Linked DNA regions of Homo sapiens: regions 1, 2, 4, 5 and 6 are each linked to region 3. The links are contacts of gene promoters, found by promoter capture Hi-C in human tissues and cell types (Jung and others, 2019). All regions are on one chromosome and are shown on one strand. The core of a region is centred on a gene start or on the middle of the fragment in contact, and the rest is flanking DNA. Distances in the headings are between cores, read along the strand shown. Region 1 overlaps DNAH9 (dynein axonemal heavy chain 9). Region 2 overlaps SHISA6 (shisa family member 6). Region 3 holds the start of SHISA6 (shisa family member 6). Region 4 has its middle 27 kb from the start of DNAH9. Region 5 overlaps DNAH9 (dynein axonemal heavy chain 9). Region 6 has its middle 95 kb from the start of PIRT.

What was found. The method cuts DNA at HindIII sites, captures the fragments that hold promoters and counts their contacts. A contact is called where the count stands out against the background at its distance.
Region 1: a fragment that was not itself captured here is called in contact with the fragment with the promoter of SHISA6 in region 3 in 1 of the 25 tissues and cell types used here (thymus).
Region 2: a fragment that was not itself captured here is called in contact with the fragment with the promoter of SHISA6 in region 3 in 4 of the 25 tissues and cell types used here (dorsolateral prefrontal cortex, hippocampus, mesenchymal stem cells and 1 more).
Region 4: a contact is called between a fragment that was not itself captured here and the fragment with the promoter of SHISA6 in region 3, in 2 of the 25 tissues and cell types used here (dorsolateral prefrontal cortex and stomach).
Region 5: a contact is called between a fragment that was not itself captured here and the fragment with the promoter of SHISA6 in region 3, in 1 of the 25 tissues and cell types used here (dorsolateral prefrontal cortex).
Region 6: a contact is called between a fragment that was not itself captured here and the fragment with the promoter of SHISA6 in region 3, in 2 of the 25 tissues and cell types used here (mesendoderm cells and thymus).

The regions. Positions count from the first base shown.
Region 1 is chr17:11,632,546-11,635,810 of GRCh38, forward strand. DNAH9 (dynein axonemal heavy chain 9) reads left to right here. Exons shown (of 69, transcript NM_001372.4): 8 at 42-158. Among named protein-coding and RNA genes, the nearest start is that of DNAH9, 36 kb to the left of the region's middle. The HindIII fragment of the contact is 3,960 bases long and covers 1-3,230 here.
Region 2 is chr17:11,550,654-11,553,705 of GRCh38, forward strand. It overlaps SHISA6 (shisa family member 6), which reads left to right. Exons shown (of 6, transcript NM_207386.4): 4 at 1,243-1,299. Among named protein-coding and RNA genes, the nearest start is that of DNAH9, 46 kb to the right of the region's middle. The HindIII fragment of the contact is 5,118 bases long and covers 1-3,052 here.
Region 3 is chr17:11,239,851-11,242,848 of GRCh38, forward strand. SHISA6 (shisa family member 6) reads left to right here and starts at 1,363. Exons shown (of 6, transcript NM_207386.4): 1 at 1,363-2,210. The coding sequence starts at 1,573. The HindIII fragment of the contact is 17,378 bases long and covers 1-2,998 here.
Region 4 is chr17:11,570,253-11,573,150 of GRCh38, forward strand. No RefSeq gene overlaps it. Among named protein-coding and RNA genes, the nearest start is that of DNAH9, 27 kb to the right of the region's middle. The HindIII fragment of the contact is 9,172 bases long and covers 1-2,898 here.
Region 5 is chr17:11,600,305-11,603,447 of GRCh38, forward strand. The region is part of intron 1 of DNAH9 (dynein axonemal heavy chain 9); the gene reads left to right. Among named protein-coding and RNA genes, the nearest start is that of DNAH9, 3.4 kb to the left of the region's middle. The HindIII fragment of the contact is 3,676 bases long and covers 1-3,143 here.
Region 6 is chr17:10,931,067-10,934,300 of GRCh38, forward strand. No RefSeq gene overlaps it. Among named protein-coding and RNA genes, the nearest start is that of PIRT, 95 kb to the left of the region's middle. The HindIII fragment of the contact is 5,656 bases long and covers 1-3,234 here.

The DNA of each region.
Region 1 (3,265 bases), core at 1-2,500, 390 kb after region 3:
GAAAATTACGTTTTCCTTATATATATATGGTGTCTCTTCAGGACTTTGAAAATGACGTCTCTGAATTTAACCAGAAAGTAGAAGATCTTGACCGAAGATTGGGGACTATCTTTATTCAAGCTTTTGATGATGCACCTGGCTTGGAGCATGCCTTTAAGGTTTGTGTAAATGGGGCAGGAGCCACTCGGTCCTGGATACTCCCCCGGCCCTCATCAGAGGATGATATGGATACCTTTCCACCTGTTCTGTTCCTGCAACTATTAATTATTCTTATTAATCTAGTAGAGAAGGATATGGGAATCCTTCTTATATCAAGAAAGTGTGCAGAATTGGGATTCTCAGGCTAATTACTTATGCTTTCCTGAAAATGTGACAATGTAAAAATACTTTTAAGAAGAATTTCTGCGGTGATCTCTTTAGGTGCCATACCTTTAGCAGTAGGGAAAGTGTGACCATGCAATACCATGGCTATTTAACCATGGCTGCTAGGTTGATTCAATCTGGAGCAAACCACCTCCCAGGTAATGATTGATAGGTTTCAGGCATCGATAACTGGAATAAGAAGATTTGTGCTCTTATCATATCACGCTCAGATCAGGTAATACAAAGTGTATGGAGGAGAAGGTTTAGGACAAGGCGTAGATGATGCATAGGTAAATGGCTGCACAGCTGAGAACGCTGCATCGTGAGACATGAAGACTCAGTGGAGCATGATATGTGTTCCACCAAGCAATCAAGAGGCTTATTCTGTAAAGCTTTAAGGGTTCCAGTAGTTGGTAGAAGTTACAAGAAGTCACATTGTGGTTCAGTAGAGGAAAGAGATTTCTGTCAAAGCTGTTTAAGATGGAATGGACTTCTTTAGCAAGTAGTTCAGTTTCTGGGCACTGAAAATGTTCAGACACAGGATCTGTGATGGGTGGGACAATTGTAGAAGAGGCTTAAACCCTGGATGGATGGATCTGTGCTATTCTAGAGTATTTGGTAACCCAAATGCGGCAGGCTCCATTAGCCATTGACCATACATATACATGTAGCCTTTAATCAATACCGTAATTCACATTGGAAGCCTTTTGAGATTCCCCTCTCCAAGCATTTGAACCAATTCCAAAGAAAGGGCTTGCATGTGTCTACAAAATGATCATGTATGCTATTAACTGTCAGGGATGATTGAAACTCTGCTGCTCAGGCAACTTGTGGGGCTGAAACTCCATTCGTGCACTAAGGATGCCCAGACCTACACATCACATAGATCCCTCTCTACCAGAGATGTTCAGGAGTCTTCAAGGGATGCCTCACAAGTATTCTCAAGCCACTTTGAAGTCTTTGAAATCACGACATCTGCTACATGTCTACAGACCCCCTTTAAATTTTATCTGCCAAGAAAAGTGCTTGAAGGAGTCTTGCCATTGCTTTTCTTCTGATGGTCCCCACCATGAAAACATGTCTGTGTGTGCCAAGGGCATGCCTCTTTGGGTTCCAGAATTCCAATCCTTGAAATTTTATGGGTTCTGGACAGAAGTAGAGGGAGACCTTCCCTCTACTGAAGCAGCACTGCTTGTACCCAGAGTTTCAGAGGGCTCATAAAAGCAGATTATTTATCTTCTGACCTTGACTCTTCTTCTCAGCTGAGCTTCCAGCCCAGGCCTTGGGAACTAGTAGGAAAACCATAACCCTCCGATCCCTTCTGCCTACTTTGTTTCTCTCTTTTTGGTGATCTCACCAACAAGAAACTAAAACCCTTCCTTCATCCCCAAGCAAAAGCAAAATCTCCAATTGACATAAGCTCATGCAGAGAAGAACATTTTCAAGGCTGGGGAGTAGGGACCAGAGAGAGTACCTGACTCTAGATCCCCTGTTGCTGCTGTAAGATCATCCAACTACTAGGTGGCCCCTCAGTGGACATGAATCCATGAGTACATCCAGGCCAAGGACTGTGAACAGACGGTGCAGGTTGGCCATGGTGGTCCCTCTGTGCACACACCTGTACTTCCTCAACAGAAGATGGGAGCCACAGAACTCGGAAAAGTCTGCTCTCTTATGCTTCCATTGAGGCAGAGCTACTTTTTACTGTCTCCAGAGATCTGGGTGATTGTTTTGTGAAAGAAAGTGTGACCCTAGATCCTCCCCAATGGAAGGCTTTTTAGCACCTTTACAGAGTCCTTAGAGTGCCTTGGAATCATTAAGGAAATCCAGTCAAACTGTCAGACCTGGAAAACATCTGGCCAAGGACCCCATATTTGGCTTTTCTCCATACCTGGTCATTCTGCATAACATGGCCTGGATGCCTCAGACTTCTAGGAGCCATCTAAGATTGTGAGCTGATGCCAATCAGCTCCTAGAGCTTGCACTCCCTCCAGGATTGGGATGCCAGTGAAGCAAAAAAATGGCCCAACCTGAAATAAGGAGGTAGGATAAAGAGCATAAGGTCTTAGACAAATGCAGACTGTTCAGCTTCCAGTTTTAGGACATGTGGATGTAATTTTATATCGTGTTTCTCATGTTCGTTGACTTAAAGCAAGGGTTCCACATTTTTTTCTACAAAAGGTCAGAGAATAAATATTTTAGACTATGGGTACATGTGTTTTCTGTCACACACTCTTTTTCATTTTATTATTTATTATTTTTATTTATTTATTTTTGAGACAGAGTCTTGCTCTGTTGCCTAGGCTGGAGTGCAGTGGTGCGATCTCAACTCACTGCAACCTATGCCTTCTGGGTTCAAGTGATTCTCATGCCTCAGCTTCTCGAGTAGCTGGGATTACAGGCACACGCCACCATGACTCGCTAATTTTTTTTTTTTTTTTTTTTTTTTTTTTAGTAGAGACGGGTTTTGCCATGTTGGCCAGGCTGGTCTTGAACTCCTGGCCTCAAGTGATGTGCCTGCCTCGTCCTTCCAAAGTACTGGGATTATAGGCATGAGCCAGAGTGCCCGGCCCTCTTTTCAATTTTTTTAATTCTCTTTTGAAATGCAAAAACCATGCACTGAGCAGTTTTGGGCAGATTTGGCTGCCCACTGCTGTACTTCGTCACCCTCTGACTTCAAGTGCTAGGTGGAGATGAGAGGTTATCATGGAAGGCACGTTTAGAAGCAGTGTATTGGTATATCCTAAATATAACTGGAGTCCTACATGGCCTCATCTCAGAAAAGCATCACAATGGAAGAAACACAGTCTAGGAGCCAGAAAGTAATTAAAAGCATTTCACATCTTGATTTTGCTGCTCCATGAAACACTGAGGGGTTAGGGCAGTCTGAATGCACAGGAAC
Region 2 (3,052 bases), core at 452-2,951, 310 kb after region 3:
CCAGAATAAAATGAGGAGCTCACTTTGGGACTTAATGATTTGGGGTGAGGGTAGGAATTTCAAGGGCATGTCCATAAGCATAAAATCTAACCCTACAGATCAAGATGGACCTTGAGCTAGAGTTGTAGATTTGGGAACTATTAATCTGGGCAAGTGGATGTAAACCTTGGAGTAGAGCTGAAGTCTTCACAAAGATGCCTGAGCATTATGAAGCCCTGGTATTTACAGAATAGAAGGGGAAATGGGACATAGTGAAGGAGCTATGGAATGAGTAGCCAGAGTATAAGGCCAAAGGCAGGAAAGAAGGCTTCAGTCACAAGATGTAAAGAAATGAAAGCAGATATTCTAGACTGCAAGAAGGACAGGGCTGTAACCTGCGGTTTAGGTAAACTAAAGCAAAGGCCTCATGCCTCCTCTTCCCTTTGCTTTAGTTGAAATCAGATACATGCAACAATGAAAAACAAGAACATAATGTTCAGTTGAAGCAATCATAGAATGCCAGAGTGCACTGTAGTGGTCAGCCACATTTTCATTCAAACAATTTTAAAAGCTTTTGGAACGCCTTGAACTTCAGGGTTTGGCAACTGTAACTGTGTTAATTGTGTGGCTTATTCCATCTAAGTGGAATATTATTAATAAAGGAAATGCCTTTGAACTATTAGACTGTGTCATTTAAAGGCAGGACAGAGCCTAGAATCCAGGACTCCTGATCTCAGGCAGTGGACAGCTCAGGTCATCTTGCTGCATCTCAGGATGCATCCAGACCCTCCTGTATAAAGGCTTAGGGACAAATCAGAGTCCTGTAAAGTGGAAGCGCCTTAAGTCAGGGCACCCTCATTTTGGTTAACCACACCCTAATACCCACCACTCAATGAAATCTGCTTCCCCGGCTTAGTTCCCCCACCCTGTCCATGCACGCATGCATGCATACCTGCCAAACACTCCCTACTCTCCATCCTTCTCCTCTTCCACCCACCCCTACGAAGCCTCTATAACTAGTTGGCCTCATCCCGAGATGTGGGTGGGTCACCATGGTGACAGAGGAAACCCTGTTGCAGAAGGAGAGAGACAGAAACAGCAGGGGACGTTTCTTGGAGCCTCATACAATGACCTCTGCCTTTCTTAGAAGTGCTTCCTTTAAGTCAGAGAAGCACATTAGAGGTAAAGAGAGATGCTGTTATGTTGGAGAGATAGTGGAATGCCTGAACTCTTCTTTAAAAATTTCTTTTCTATGATTTTCAGGTGATCATCAATATAACCATCCGATTTTGAGCAGTGTTACCCAGATCCCGCCACATGGTGAGAGATGATTGAGAGCACTCTGCATTTCCTCCTTATTTCGAGTGGCACCATTCTAAGGATGGATGCCTATCAGGGCATCAAACACACGGTCATAAACTCACTGAAGCTAAGGAGGTCCAAGGAGCCACAGGCTCGCCCTCCTCCAGGGCCACAATGCTCTAATCTCACTTGTAGGCTATTTTCCCCTTGGTGTTTCTGTCTCCGATATCAGAATGATCTCTTGACATAAACAGAAAGGGGCTAGACCCATTTCTACTTGCCACCTGTATCACTTCTTACAGTCATAAATTCCATATGTCCACAGCAAGGAGTGGAACACCCTCCTTTGTTCAAAGCTATTTGTGATATCATTTACGAAAGACATGAGACTTGGTTAAACTTTATGATCCTCCCCAGGCTAATTAAGATTTGATAAAACTCAAAACTGATTTGGGCTTTAGCCTCTTGGCAGAAAAAAGAGGCTGAAAATTGTTGAGTGGAGGAGTGTTAGCATAGTGCCCAAGGGTTATAAAACTATGTTTCCCTCTTAGATTATAATATCCTCCCACCAGATCACAGCTGAACAGAGAAAATCTATTTTTGGCACCTGCTCAAGACTTGATAGAACATAAGACAGCCACATAAATTGCGAATTATCAGTCATTTTTGTCTCTTTGCTGTGAAAGAGTGAAAACATCATTAAAATTTTAGTGAGAGAGAAACTCAAAACAATGATAAATCCTACAGGCTACCTGGTAGAGAGACCTACCACTGTTATGTCAGATTATGGTGTGCCTCAGCACTGAAGTTGAGGGATATTATAATTAGGAGGAAGAGATTGGAATATTTTCATGTGCTATGCTCCAGGTGGAAATAAATGATGAAAGCAATAGTATAATCAGATTTGTCAGGTTGTGGGGTCTAAAAAGTTAGAACTGGGAGAAACTGGGGAGATCAGTGAAAAGAGGTTGATACCAGTGGTGATGTTGACAGTGGGAAAAGAAAGGACGGTTGAGATATGAAACCTTTTGAAGAAAGAATTGGAGAAAGTTCCTTACTAACTGAATGTGGCTGATGAGAGCCAATGATGACACTGATTAGAAAAATGAAGGGTTTTATTAACAAAATCTAAGGAATCAGGAAAACAGTCAGTATGTATGGGGGATGGAGTTGTCAGTGAGTTTGGATCTGGACACCTGGAGTTTGCAAGAAAAAAATATTCAACAGGCAGGAATGCAGACATGAAGTCTGGAGGAAGGTTAGAGCTGAAGATGTGAGTGAAGCTTTGGAGGCAGTAACAGAAGCCTCAGGAGTGGGGGCACTCTACACTGAAAGAGAAGTGCAGAAGGCAGAGGCAGGGAGCCTGGGGGATGCCCACAGTGATGAAGCAGCCTCAGGAAGAGCCAGAAAAGGCACGCAAGGAGAGCTCCCACTTGCTCAGTCACACTACCCAGCTCATTTTCCTGAGAAGGAGCCAACACAAGCAGACTCCTGAATACAACAGGAGGAGCCATTCTTCCCTCCTTCTCTTCCTGTCTTCTTTTTTCCAACTGGTGCAAGGAGATGGGGGTTGATGAGACCTGGTCCCTGCCCTTGAGCAGCTCACAATGTAGTGAGAGTAGAGTTTTCTCTGCATTGCTTTCTTGGATGTTCCCTTCTTTCCCAGGAGCTGGCAGAGTGACTATCAAGCGAGGAGGGGGCCTGAGTCTACTTAATTAGTGTTCCACAAAGAGCATTAATTGGATCCTTATTCTGGGCCAAGCACTATGAA
Region 3 (2,998 bases), core at 113-2,612:
TTACAAAGCTGAGTCTCAGAGGTTCAGATAGCTTTCTAATGGCCTCGAGGCTCCGCGGGGAAAAAAAAAAGTATAGCAAAGAGTTGCCATCCAGTCCTGGGGCTGTCTAGCGCCTTTATGCGTAGTGGGTACGGGGTTGGGGAAAGAGTGACCAAGGGGAAGAGAGTGTAGGCTCAGCTCACGGGTCGCCCAACAGCCTCAGACAAGCCACTTGACCCCTGGACTCAGTTTGGGAACCTGTAGCAATGGGTTTGACCTCTTCTCCTGGCTGCGAGTATCACCACTAGGGAGAGGCAAAGGCTTGCAGAAACCCCAACTCCCGCTCAGGCAGCGCGCTGCCCCGGGCTCCGGTAGGGTGGGGACTGGTCGCGAAGGCTAGAGAAGGCAATGGCAGGGGAGGTCAGTCCCTGCCGCGGGCCGGCTGCAGAGCGGACGTTCCGCCCTGCTCCCGGCCCCCTCTTCGCCCGCCGGGTTCGCCGTGTCGAATAACTGCTGTCCGGAGCTTTCGTGACGCGGAGCTTCAACTGCTGCGATCCGGAAGAAGCGAAAAGGAGTCCCCCCCGCCCCGCACCCTGAGCGCCCGGGCGTGCAAACGTGGGTGGCGGAGAGCGGCTGCCCTCCCCTCCCCTGTCCCCCCTCCCCTCGCGGCGCTCCCGTGTGTGCGGGTGTGTGAGTGCGTGTGTCTCCCTCGCTCACTCTCGCACACGTTCCGGCACTAGTGCAGGCGGCGAGCCGGCGGCTCTCCGCTCGCTCGCTCCGGCAGCTGCGTTCCCGCCTCGCCCCGCCGCCGCCGCCGCCGCCGCCGCCGCCGCCTCTGCAGTCGCAGCCGGGCATGGTGAGTGAGTGAGGTCCAGCCGCCGCGCGCTCTCCCGGCTCGCCGCCGGACCCCAGCCTCAACCGGCTCCGTCCCAGGGAGCCAGCCTGCGGCGGGAGCGCGCTGCGGGGCCGGGCGGCTGGGGGACCCGGGCGGCCGAGCTGCGCCTGGAGGGGCGGCCCGTGCGCTCTCGGTTCCAGGCGCGCAGGGCCGCGGGACCCCGTCTTGGGAGCGGGCTCTACGCCCCTCCCGGCTCCGAGTCTCTCTCCTCGAGGGCTGCGCGCACCCTCCCCGCCCGCCTGCCCGCGGTTCTCCTCCTGCTCCCGGAGCGCCAGTCGCCCCACCCCGTGACCGGCTCCCCGTCTTGTCCCGCAGGACCCGCCCGGACGGGACCACGCCGCCGCCGCCGCCGCCGCCGCCCGGAGCCGCGCTTCGGGTCCTGCCTGAGCCGAGCCGCGCGCGGGGCCGCAGTCACCGCCGGCGGGGGATGGGGCTGCCCAGGAGGCGCGCCGAGCCCGCAGGGGGAGCGCGGAGCCGGCGCGCAGCCTGAGAGCCCGAGCAGCCCGCGCCGGGCCGGTCCGTGCGCACCGCGCGCCGCCGCCGCCACTGCCGCCCGCGCCTCGATGGCGCCATCGCCCCGGAGCCGCTGACCGCTCAGCGCCTCCAGCCCGGCCCGCGCGGCGGGTCCTCCGAGCCCGGCCCGCCGGGGGAGCGGCCTGCCGCGGAAGCCTCCCCGCGCCCTCCCGCCCGGCCCCGCCATGGCGCTGCGGCGCCTCCTGCTGCTGCTGCTGCTCTCGCTGGAGTCCCTGGACCTGCTGCCCAGCGTCCACGGAGCCCGCGGCCGCGCCGCCAACCGGACCCTGAGTGCAGGCGGCGCTGCCGTCGGGGGCCGGAGGGCCGGGGGCGCCCTGGCACGGGGCGGCCGCGAGCTGAACGGCACCGCCCGGGCGCCCGGAATCCCGGAGGCGGGAAGCCGGCGGGGGCAGCCCGCGGCGGCTGTGGCGGCGGCGGCCAGCGCGGCCGTCACCTACGAGACGTGCTGGGGCTACTACGACGTGAGCGGCCAGTACGACAAGGAGTTCGAGTGTAACAACAGCGAGAGCGGCTACCTGTACTGCTGCGGTACCTGCTACTACCGCTTCTGCTGCAAGAAGCGCCACGAGAAGCTGGACCAGCGCCAGTGCACCAACTACCAGAGCCCGGTGTGGGTACAGACGCCCAGCACCAAGGTGGTGTCGCCGGGGCCCGAGAACAAGTACGACCCGGAGAAGGACAAGACCAACTTCACCGTCTACATCACCTGCGGGGTGATCGCCTTCGTCATCGTGGCCGGCGTCTTCGCCAAGGTCTCCTACGACAAGGCCCACCGCCCTCCACGGGAGATGAACATCCACAGGTGAGAGCGCCGCGTGCCGCGCGCCCCGGTCTCCCCGCGGCCTCACCCTCTCAGCTTGCTTCCCCTGTCCTCTTCACTCTCGGCATCATCACACCTCCCCAGGCCCTCTAGTCATTTCCACCATCGCTCCTTTTGCATGCAATAAATCAGGGTCTTCTTGTGCCCCCTCCTCCATTTCTTCAGAACCGGGAATGCATGCTTTGGTGGTAGGGGGATTTACAAGGCAGAGTAAGAATTGGTTGAGTGCATGAAGTTCCAAGTGTAAGAATGTTACAAATTCTGTAATCGTGGATGAGGATCCAGGGTTCTGCTTTCCTGGCATGAGGGCACTTTGGTGTAGGTTCTTAATGGCATTTAGTTTTTTGAGTCAAATCAGAGTGTCATCTTCAATATAGGAAACTGACCAATGTTGGAACCTTACTGAAAGCGGTACCAAGTGGCTTAGGGTCAACTGAGATGTTCTCGTACATTAGGAATTGGGGTTTTATAGAAAGGATGCCTCCTGCCGGAAGTAGGGATAAAGATTTCTCCATTCCATGTTGACCAAGCACAGATGGTGTCTCCTCATTGCATCCTGCGGAGTGGGATGTTTATCTTTCCTGCTGAGACTAGAGGACTCGTTCTTTGAAACCCTGTAGGCAGAACTCTGAGTTAACAGTACTCGCCTGTGTTAAACCTGGTGGGGCATCTTTCACTGCTTACGTTCGAAAGACAGTGGGAGCTGCCTCCTACCAAAACTTACGCCAAGAGCTCAAACTATGGCAGTCCCTGGTTGCACGCTGAATGCT
Region 4 (2,898 bases), core at 297-2,796, 330 kb after region 3:
AAGTAAAACTGAGTTGAGGGCTGGAAGAAGCTTTAGTTTTACAGTAATTTGGAAGCTGTTAATATTACAATGGTCTGGGACTACTAATTATTAGGCTGGGAAATTACAAAATGACTTTCTATTTTCTAACAATAACCTGAAAAGTAGGGAATGGAAAAAAGGAATGAAATTTCTTACTGGTGACACACTTGGGTTTACTTGCTTGGCATAATGGTTATACAAGCAAACACACCTGGCAAAGGACCTGTGCAAAATACCCCAGATTGAGGAAGAAGGAACGTTGTACTAAAGACTTGAAGGAGGGGCATACAATTACAGGATTAAGGAACTGTATGAGATCCTTGATAGACTACAAGAAGAGAAGATAAGTCTTTTACGAACGAGGAACAATCTTCATGAGAGAACAAGACAGGATAGAAAGGAGACGAGATTCATGGACATCTGGGTCTTTGCCTTCCATCGATCATCCTGGCCACCATCCTATGTCCCCCACACCTCTTGATAACAGACTCCAACCCTACTTCAGTCACCAGTGTAGGCAATGGCTCAAGCCAGACCAACTGCAGTCTTTTTCTTTAATTTCCAGACAGAAATGTAAAGAGAGAAAATGTCTTCCTTGTCAGGGACTGGACCTTAATGATACAAATCTAGGGCTACCATAGCCTTGTCCTACACTATATGGGGAAAGAATGAAGGTGATGAAAGAGGAATAATGATAGCTAACATTCACTCAATGCTAACTGTGCACTTGGTACTATCAAAGCACTTTGCAGGCATTAACCCACTGAATCCTCATACCATCTCTTATGAGGTTAGAACTACTGTGTGTCCCATTGCTAAGGAATTTGCCCACATCCTAAGGAAAAGGAGAAGCCATTGATGGGCCATGGGATGTATGGGAGGAAGATTAAGGTCACCCTTCAGAAGATGACTAGAGCTGTCCTGTAGAACATGGATTTGATGAAGTTCATGTTGAAGGGCAGGTAGACCAGTGAGGAGCAGTGTGGTATTATGCTGAGACATGCACCAAATCAGAGCTGTAGGTGTGGACTTCAAATTTCAGTTGCAGAGAGCAACATAGTGGTCATTTAAGGATTCTGAGTCATTTTCTGGTTATTTTAAAATTATACTGACCAGGCGCGGTGGCTCACGCCTGTAATCCCAGCACTTTGGGAGGCCGAGGTGGGCAGATCACCTGAGGTCAGAAGTTCAAGACCAGCCTGGCCAACATGGTGAAACCCCGTCTCTACCAAAAATACAAAAATTAGCCAGAGGTGGTGGCGCACTCCTGTAATCCCAGCTGCTCGGGAGGCTGAGGCAGGAGAATTGCTTCAACCTGGGAATTGGAGGTTGCAGTGAGCCGAGATCATGCCACTGCACTCCAGCCTGGGCAAGGGAGCGAGACTCCATCTCAAAAAAAAAATTATACTGAATGATCTGAATTATTGATTTTTAAAAATATACACTAATATACTACTTAGCAGTAGCTTGCATTTATCACAAATCCTCTTTCTATTTATCTTCTATCTAGGACTGTGATTATTCTGATGTATAGTATGCTTAAAAGTCAGGATTGTGTGTGTGTAAAATGTGTAGATAAAAGAATAAGTAAATATATCAATAAGTAAATTATGTTGGCACTGGGTGGTGGGACTCTATCTGATTTATAGTGATTTATTTATATTTCTTTTTATTTTCTATCATTTCTAAGCATACATTATGCCTGTGTTCAGAAAATAATCAGTATTTGTCATGTTACTAATATCATAGGATCATTATATATAAATCTATAATAAATGCATATATGTATAAAATGTGTGTACATAGATCATCCCTGACTTATGGTGGCTTGATTTACAACTTTTTGACTTTACAATGGTATGAAAATAATACATGTTCAGTAGAAACTGTACTTTGAATTTTGACTTTTTCCCAGGCTAGCCTTATGTGGTACAATATTGTCTTATGACGCTGGGCAGTGGCCAGGAGCCACAACTCCCAGTGAGCCCCACCATCACAAGGGCAAACAACCAATTCAAGGGCAAGCAACCAGTTCTGTTCTCTACAGTGTACTGTTTTCAATAAATCACATAAGACATTCAACACTTCATTAGAAAATATGGCTTTGTGATAGGTAATTTTGCCCAACTGTAAGCTAATGTAAGTGTTCTGAGCATGTTTAAGGTAGGCTGGGCTAAGCTATGCTGCTCAGACGGTTAGGTGTATTCAATGCATTTTCGACTTACAATATTTTCAACGTATAATGACTTTATCAGGATGAATACCCATCAAAAGTTGAGGAGCATCTGTGCATATGTGCATGCATTCGTGTATGTGTGTGTGTGTGTAACAAAATAACTAGAAGAAAACTACTCCAAATTACTAACGGTGTTAGTGAATCTTGGTAATTTTTAAATTTCTTTTTACTTTAATGTATTTCCCAGTTTTCCATAATAAGCATGCATTACTTTTTTAATGGAAAAAACAAAATTCATTCTTTTAATATTGAAAAGTAGTGAGGTTGGAGGGCTCACTTTAAACAAAGATGCCACACCTCCCTGAAAATGGAGCAGCAAATGTTTTGGCCATTCTCCAGCAGGGCCTTCTACATAAAGAAGCCACAATACTCACATGATGGTTGGCTTAAATTAGGAAAACTCAGTGGAACTGGGAGCAACTCTACTGAGCATCCACCTTAAGGTGGATCTTTGCCCCCTTTTTCTTTGTTTCCAGGGCAGGGCTTTTATCACTGGATAATTAGCTCTGCCTTTTTTGTAAAGTACTTCTAGCTGTGACTGGGGAACTGGTGGATTATCAGTTGCAACAGGGCCAGGTGGGCTGGATGAATGTCATGCCCTCTCCAGTCTGTCCAGACCCCATCACTCCCTACTGGATTCC
Region 5 (3,143 bases), core at 77-2,576, 360 kb after region 3:
GTTGAATTGTCTCCTGAACAATTAGAAGAATTTGTATAAGTAGAGAGCAAGGTAACTTTCAAGATACTGAGAGCAGACTGATCAAAGGTTCAGAGACAGGATTTAACCTAGTGTATGTGGGAGACAGAAGGCCCATCTCAGAGTTGTGTCATGGCCAAGCAAAGTAGTCCAGCAAGAAAAATAATTTTAAAATAATGAAAATTCTCGAATGTTTAAGAATTTTCATTGGTGCATTGAAAGAGATTGGAGACAAACAATGTTCATCAACAGGGGACTGGGTGACTGAATTATGGGCCATCTATACAGTGAAATACTTTGCAACTATTAAAAAGAATGACTGATATGGAATATTCCTTTTTTTGAGGCAGGGTCTTGCTATGTTGACCAGGCTGGTTTCAAACTCCTAGACTCAAGTGATCCTCCTGCCTTGGCCTCCCAAAGTGCTGGGATTACAGGTGTGAGCCACCATGTCCAACCGGAGTTATTCCTTAGGGTAATTTTTTCCTTGTGGCAAAAAAAACACATGACGTAAAATTCACCCAACAATTTCCAAGTGTAGAGTACAATATTGTCAACCACATATGCATTATTGTGCAACACATCCTCAGAACTGCCCCGTCCAGCATCACTGAAACTCCACACACACCCAGCAAGCCACACATCGCTCCCCTGAGCTCCTGGCTAGCACCATTCTACTTTCTGTTCCTATGAACCTGACTCATCATATAAGTGGAATCATGCAGTATTTGTTCCTTCTGACTGACTTATGTCACTTAGCATAATGTCCTCAAGGTTCATCCATATCGTCACCGCCTATCGTCATATGCGGGATTTCTTTCTTTTTTTAACAATATTCTATTGTATGTATATACCACATTTCTAAAAAATTTATCCATCATAGACACTTAGGATGTTTCTGTCTCTTGGTTTTTGTGAATAATGCTGCAATTTAAGATAATTTTTTAAAGAAGTGCAGAATTGCATGGATGGTATGCTACTATTTATGTTTAAAAAAGAAAGGAGGGGAAGAAGAGAGAAAGGAAGGAGGGAAGGGAGGGTGGGAGGGAGAGAGGGAGGGAGGAAGAGAGGACATTCTTTAACAGTAATCCACAAGAAGGAGAAACAGTAACTGAAGTACAGGGGTAGGTGGAAGATTTACTTCCCACTGTAAAAGCTTTTGTACGTTTAAATTTTTGCCCCATGTAAATGTATTACCTATTTTAAAACCTAAATAAATAACTTATTTTAAAAATAACTCAAGTCCTTTCCTTGCATTTCTCAAAGCTTGTACCAGTAACTTTATTCCACTTTCTGTCCATCCATCTACTTTTATTCCATACCCTGAAGCTGATCCAGTGTCTCTTTCAAGGCTTGTTGGCCTCCCATCTGCTAAGACCCTCCTTCTGGCCCAGCCCTCCTGTCCACCCCCTCTCCTCTCTCTCAGCACCTTGTAATCAGCTTAATAGTCTCTGATTACCTGCTCCCCTTTTCCTTCCACCTCCCCATGCAGCATCGCTAAAGCCAGAAGAACCTACCTGGCTGAGAGACGTCTTCCTGCCTTGTGTGTGTGTGGGCGGGGCGGTTTGGGGGTAGGATTGAGGGTGTTGGCTGAGAGAAAGCTGTAATTTTAATATTATTTTTGTTCCATTCTACGAGTACAAGGTAAAAAAGGAAAATGTGCCTAAGAAATGTTTGAAAGGAAGAATTAACAGAATTTAGTAACTTGTTCTCCTACTTCCTTACTTCCTCCTCCAACCACATCATTCACTACTGCCAACTTATTTTTCCTAGCTCTGAAACTTGGATTTTTTTTTTGACTTTTTGCATTTTGGAATGTGAGCATAAGATTTGGAATCTCACAGACCTAAGTCAAATTCTGGTTAAATTCAGCAGTGTGATGTGAGCAGATGTGCTCACTCTGCCAGGTCCAAAACTGTCTTGCAGGGTTGCTATGAAATTTAGACATCATATATTAGAACACCTGGAATAGAGTGTCACACTGCAGGTGTTCCATAAAGGATGAGAATTCTTGTCACTCTTCATCCTATTTAAAATCCTCCTCACCCATCTGATGGATCCTTGTCACCTTGCTGTAACCCATCCTGGCTCCTCCTGGAGGACTCAGCTGCGTTTCCCCTACAGCCTTCTCCTAAGCCTGGAGCTGGGGCAGGTGGCCTCCTTGTTCCTCCTTGCTGCTCTAGATCCACATCAAAAAGCCTCCAGTTTGAATCTCCTGTCATCAAAGGACATCATCCACTCTCACTGCTGCATCCTGTACAGATGGTGCTACCCTTGCGTGTGTATGATTTTGCCTCCCAACTCACTGTGGCTCTCCCCAACATTACTTCTAATATGTGGTTATTTCCAAAGACATGTGAATGACCCTTCCAATAACTTGGCCTCTGGGTTCTCTGTATCTTTGTCCTCCAGTGATCTTGTCCTCCTCCCGATCATAAGCAGCCCCTCCCATGGCCATTTCCAGACCTTGCATTCCCAACAACCACCAACCTCATTGTCCAATTTTATGCACCTCCTTCTCTGACCACTACTCCCATCTTTCCAGCTCACTCTCTCTCATACCCTGACTACAACAGTCCTTTGATCCTGCTGGGAGCTCCAATCTCTTGACCTTGGCTCCTTCCCATTGGCCCTGGACCATGCACACGGTCTCTTCTCTTACCCAATTTGAGTGCCATGCTCCTTCATGATCATCATACCCTTGCATCAGCTCCTGATGTACTGGCCTCTACCTCACTATGTCATACTCAGTTGGTGCAACCACAATCCTGGTAAAACCCAGCTCTACATACTTCATACCTGCACCCATTAAATTAAAAGAGACCAGGGAAAAACCAATGGGCTCCTCTTTAAATACACGACCTCTCGAACTGCTAAGTAAGCCTTTTATGTTTCCCAGCAGACATTCTATTTTTTTTCTATTCCAACTATATTTTCTTGCTCTTTTAGATCACTATTTCCCAACGTGAGAAACAATTTGAAAAGAAAAATCTTTCTTCTTTCAAATGTCCAAAACCTCCTGTTAACCTCACTCTGAGACGCTCTTGCTTCTTTCTTGGTTTTTTAAGAAACGGAAACGAGAATAACAAGTCCACGAACTCTTATGTCCACTTTGACTGCAGCAT
Region 6 (3,234 bases), core at 214-2,713, 310 kb before region 3:
GTGGTGAGAAATGCTTCCTGCTGTCTCTTCTAAAGACACTCTCTTATGCTTTGCACTTTCTCCAGCCAGTTATTGCACATCAGAAACACCAGGGGAGCTTTCAAAGCTTTGGGCTCCCTGGGGTTCACCCTAGTCCATCTTTATTAGAATCTTCAGTGGTGGAGCACAGGCATTGACATTTTTTAAAAGCACCTCCAGAGTTTCTAATGGGTAGTCAGGACTGTGAGCTACTGATCCAGCCAGACTCAAACCCCATGAGTCATTAACCTTCACCAAGTTAAATAACTAATCCGCCACAAAGGAAAAATCCTGCAAATCTGGAGCAGCTGTCGATAGTGTTATAGAAAGTGATTTGTTTTCATCCTGGAGTCTTCCAGCTGCTGGAGAAGCTGAATAACCCTTTATGGGACTGGACAAATTCGAGAAGGACTAGGACAATGATGTCTGGGCTTGTCTTCTGGGTCCCCTTCAACCTCTGACTACAGTATTGCAGTATTGCTACCTAAAGAGCCAGGGTGGAGATTTCAGCAAACATTTGGTAATAAAATCCCAGGGGATTGGATCCTGCCGCATGCACACCCCTATGAAGATTCCACTGGGCCAGAATTCCACGGCTGCACATGTTCTGACTCGCAAATTCTTAGACCCATCTTCACCTGGAGAGAGGTCAAAGGTGATGTGCTGGTAATTGTGAATCTGCCTTAATTATGGCAAGTTAAGTTTTGCTAAGAGCAGATTTTTGGGTCCAGCACTGTCCTACACAATCTAGCCAATTCTAAGCCCCAATGAATCAAAGAACTGTTAAGCTCTGCCAATCAGCTGGGCTCCCACGTGTGACCTGCAGCCACTCACACTCAAGCATCAGACATTTGTCTGTATTCCTTTTGGTCAAACAGAATATTCACCACTCTCCAGTTCTGTGGACACCTGCCTAGGTGAACACTGGCAGCCATGAAATTCTGTCCCAGTGGAATTTTCACAGTGGTGTAACCCACAGGCAGGGTTCTTAAGGCTTCAAAGGGCAGAAGGACAAGCTCACCTTTCTCCTAAGCTATATCAGCTTTTTTTAATCCACAGGAGATGCCGATTTTCTGCGTTTGCAACAGCCAAATGAGTTTTGTCCTATGCACAAGACAAGTTGTAATTTATCAAATCCACTCATACTCTTTTCCCTTGCTTTTTACCCAGACAAAGAATGCAGCAGAGAGGTTATTAAATTCTTTTCTAGGGGTGAAATATATAAAAAAGCTGTGTGAGTCAGTAATGCACTCCAAGAATTTAAGTAAATTTGTTATGCTTGATCTCACTGTTATGAAGCCAAATTTGCCGCTCTTTACAAGATAATACACAAAAATATATATTCAGCACACACAGCCCCTAATATTCCCTGCTGCTCTCAACAATAGGAGCTGAGCTTCCTGCTTTAGCTCATATTTTTCTGAATAAGAGGAAATGTATGAACAATTTTCTGTTCCTTCGTCTTGTGCCTGGAATTTCAACCACATTCCTAGAAGGCTTTTCAGTGGTTCTTCCCCATAGTTCAGTGATTCTACTGGGCTACTGTATTTATTCACATTTAATGGTACAGAAAGTCCCACTTTTAGATACAATGCACACTTGGAAACTGTCTTAGAAGTGACTTGCATATAAATGAAATTGACTGCATGTATGATAATTCTGCCTTTGCTTATCTGGTTATCAAAGAAATAAATGTTTATAGAACATTTGTTTATGGAGCCCCTAATATGTTCCAAGCTCTGTACAGGACACTTCACTACATTAGTTCATGTAATTCTCACAGTAGCCTTGCAAGATAGATATTATCTCAGTTTATAGATGATAAGACAGTGTCAAGAGATATTATATTTCCTGCTCAAGATCAGACATTGCCAAATGTCCCCTGGGGGACAAAACTGCCCCTCAGTGAGAACCACTGACCTTGACCATAGGAGTGTGAAAGTAGCTGTACCTAAACACATCCACTTTCAAGTCTTCTTTGAGCCTCATAATGTCGAGTTCAGCCCTTTGCCGTCAGTGGCAGGCCGGCCCCATCTTAATGTGAATGTGCAAAGGTCAGCAGATATGCCATGTCAGGTAGGAAACAGAATTTTGTGTTAGTGCATTCCCACACTGCTATAAAGACATACCTGAGACTGGGTAACTTACGATGAAAAGAGGTTTAATTGGCTCATGGTTCTGTAGGCTATACAGGTTTCTGCTTCTGGGGAGGCCTTAGGAAATTTACATAGTAGAAGGGGAAGGGGAAGAAAGCACATCTTCACATGGCCAACAGGAGAGAGAGAGTGGGGGCGGGGCAGTGCTACACACTTTTAAACAAGCAGATCTCAAGATCTCATGAGAACTCTATCATGAGACTGCAATAGGGGGATGGTGCTTAACCATTAGAAACTACCCCCGTGATCCAATCACCTCCAACCAGCCTCCACCTCTAACATATTGGGGATTACAATTCAACATGAGATTTGAGTGGGGATACAGAGCCGAACCATATCAACTTTGAAATGTCATTTTGCTTCCACTGTCCCTGAGCTTTCTCTGCTGGGAGCTGTAGGCCGTGGTTATAGGTGACACAACTCTGGCCCTGCACCTTGTTGTACAAAGTCAAGGCACTGGGTGATCGGTAGACTGCACATTAGGATTCCTCTTGGAAGCCATTACTCTGTCAGGACAGCTAGCAATAACTTTGTTATATATGGAAGTGACTGCCAACCATGTAAATATATCCACCTAACTTCAAATTATATTCCCAACTCAATTTACCTTTAACTGTATCTCCAAAATGCTCATGGCCATCCCAGTGCCACCAGATATGAAAGAAGGTATGATGGAGGAGAAGTCAAAGAAGAAATACTGGTCCTGACCAATTGAGATTAAAATATTTGACTTTTGAAAATTTCACAATAACAAAGTGACTGTGGAGAAATATTACTAGGTCCCTCCAGGAATGTGGAAGTAGCCTGTGTAGGTGAAGGGTTGTGAAGCTTAAATTTTGTTAGCTTCACAGTAAAGACACCTTATTAGGCAGCCTTTGCTTACTCTTCTCCCTGCCTCTCATTATCTTGTTTGATATAAAAGAGTATTTGTGAATAAGCAAGGGTGACAGGTTATTTCTTGGCTTTTGACCTAGGATCCCTGGTAGTGTGAAACATGTAGGCTTAGTCTAAGACCTAGACCCCTTTTTAGATTTGCATATTTGTCAAAGGTGAAAGAATA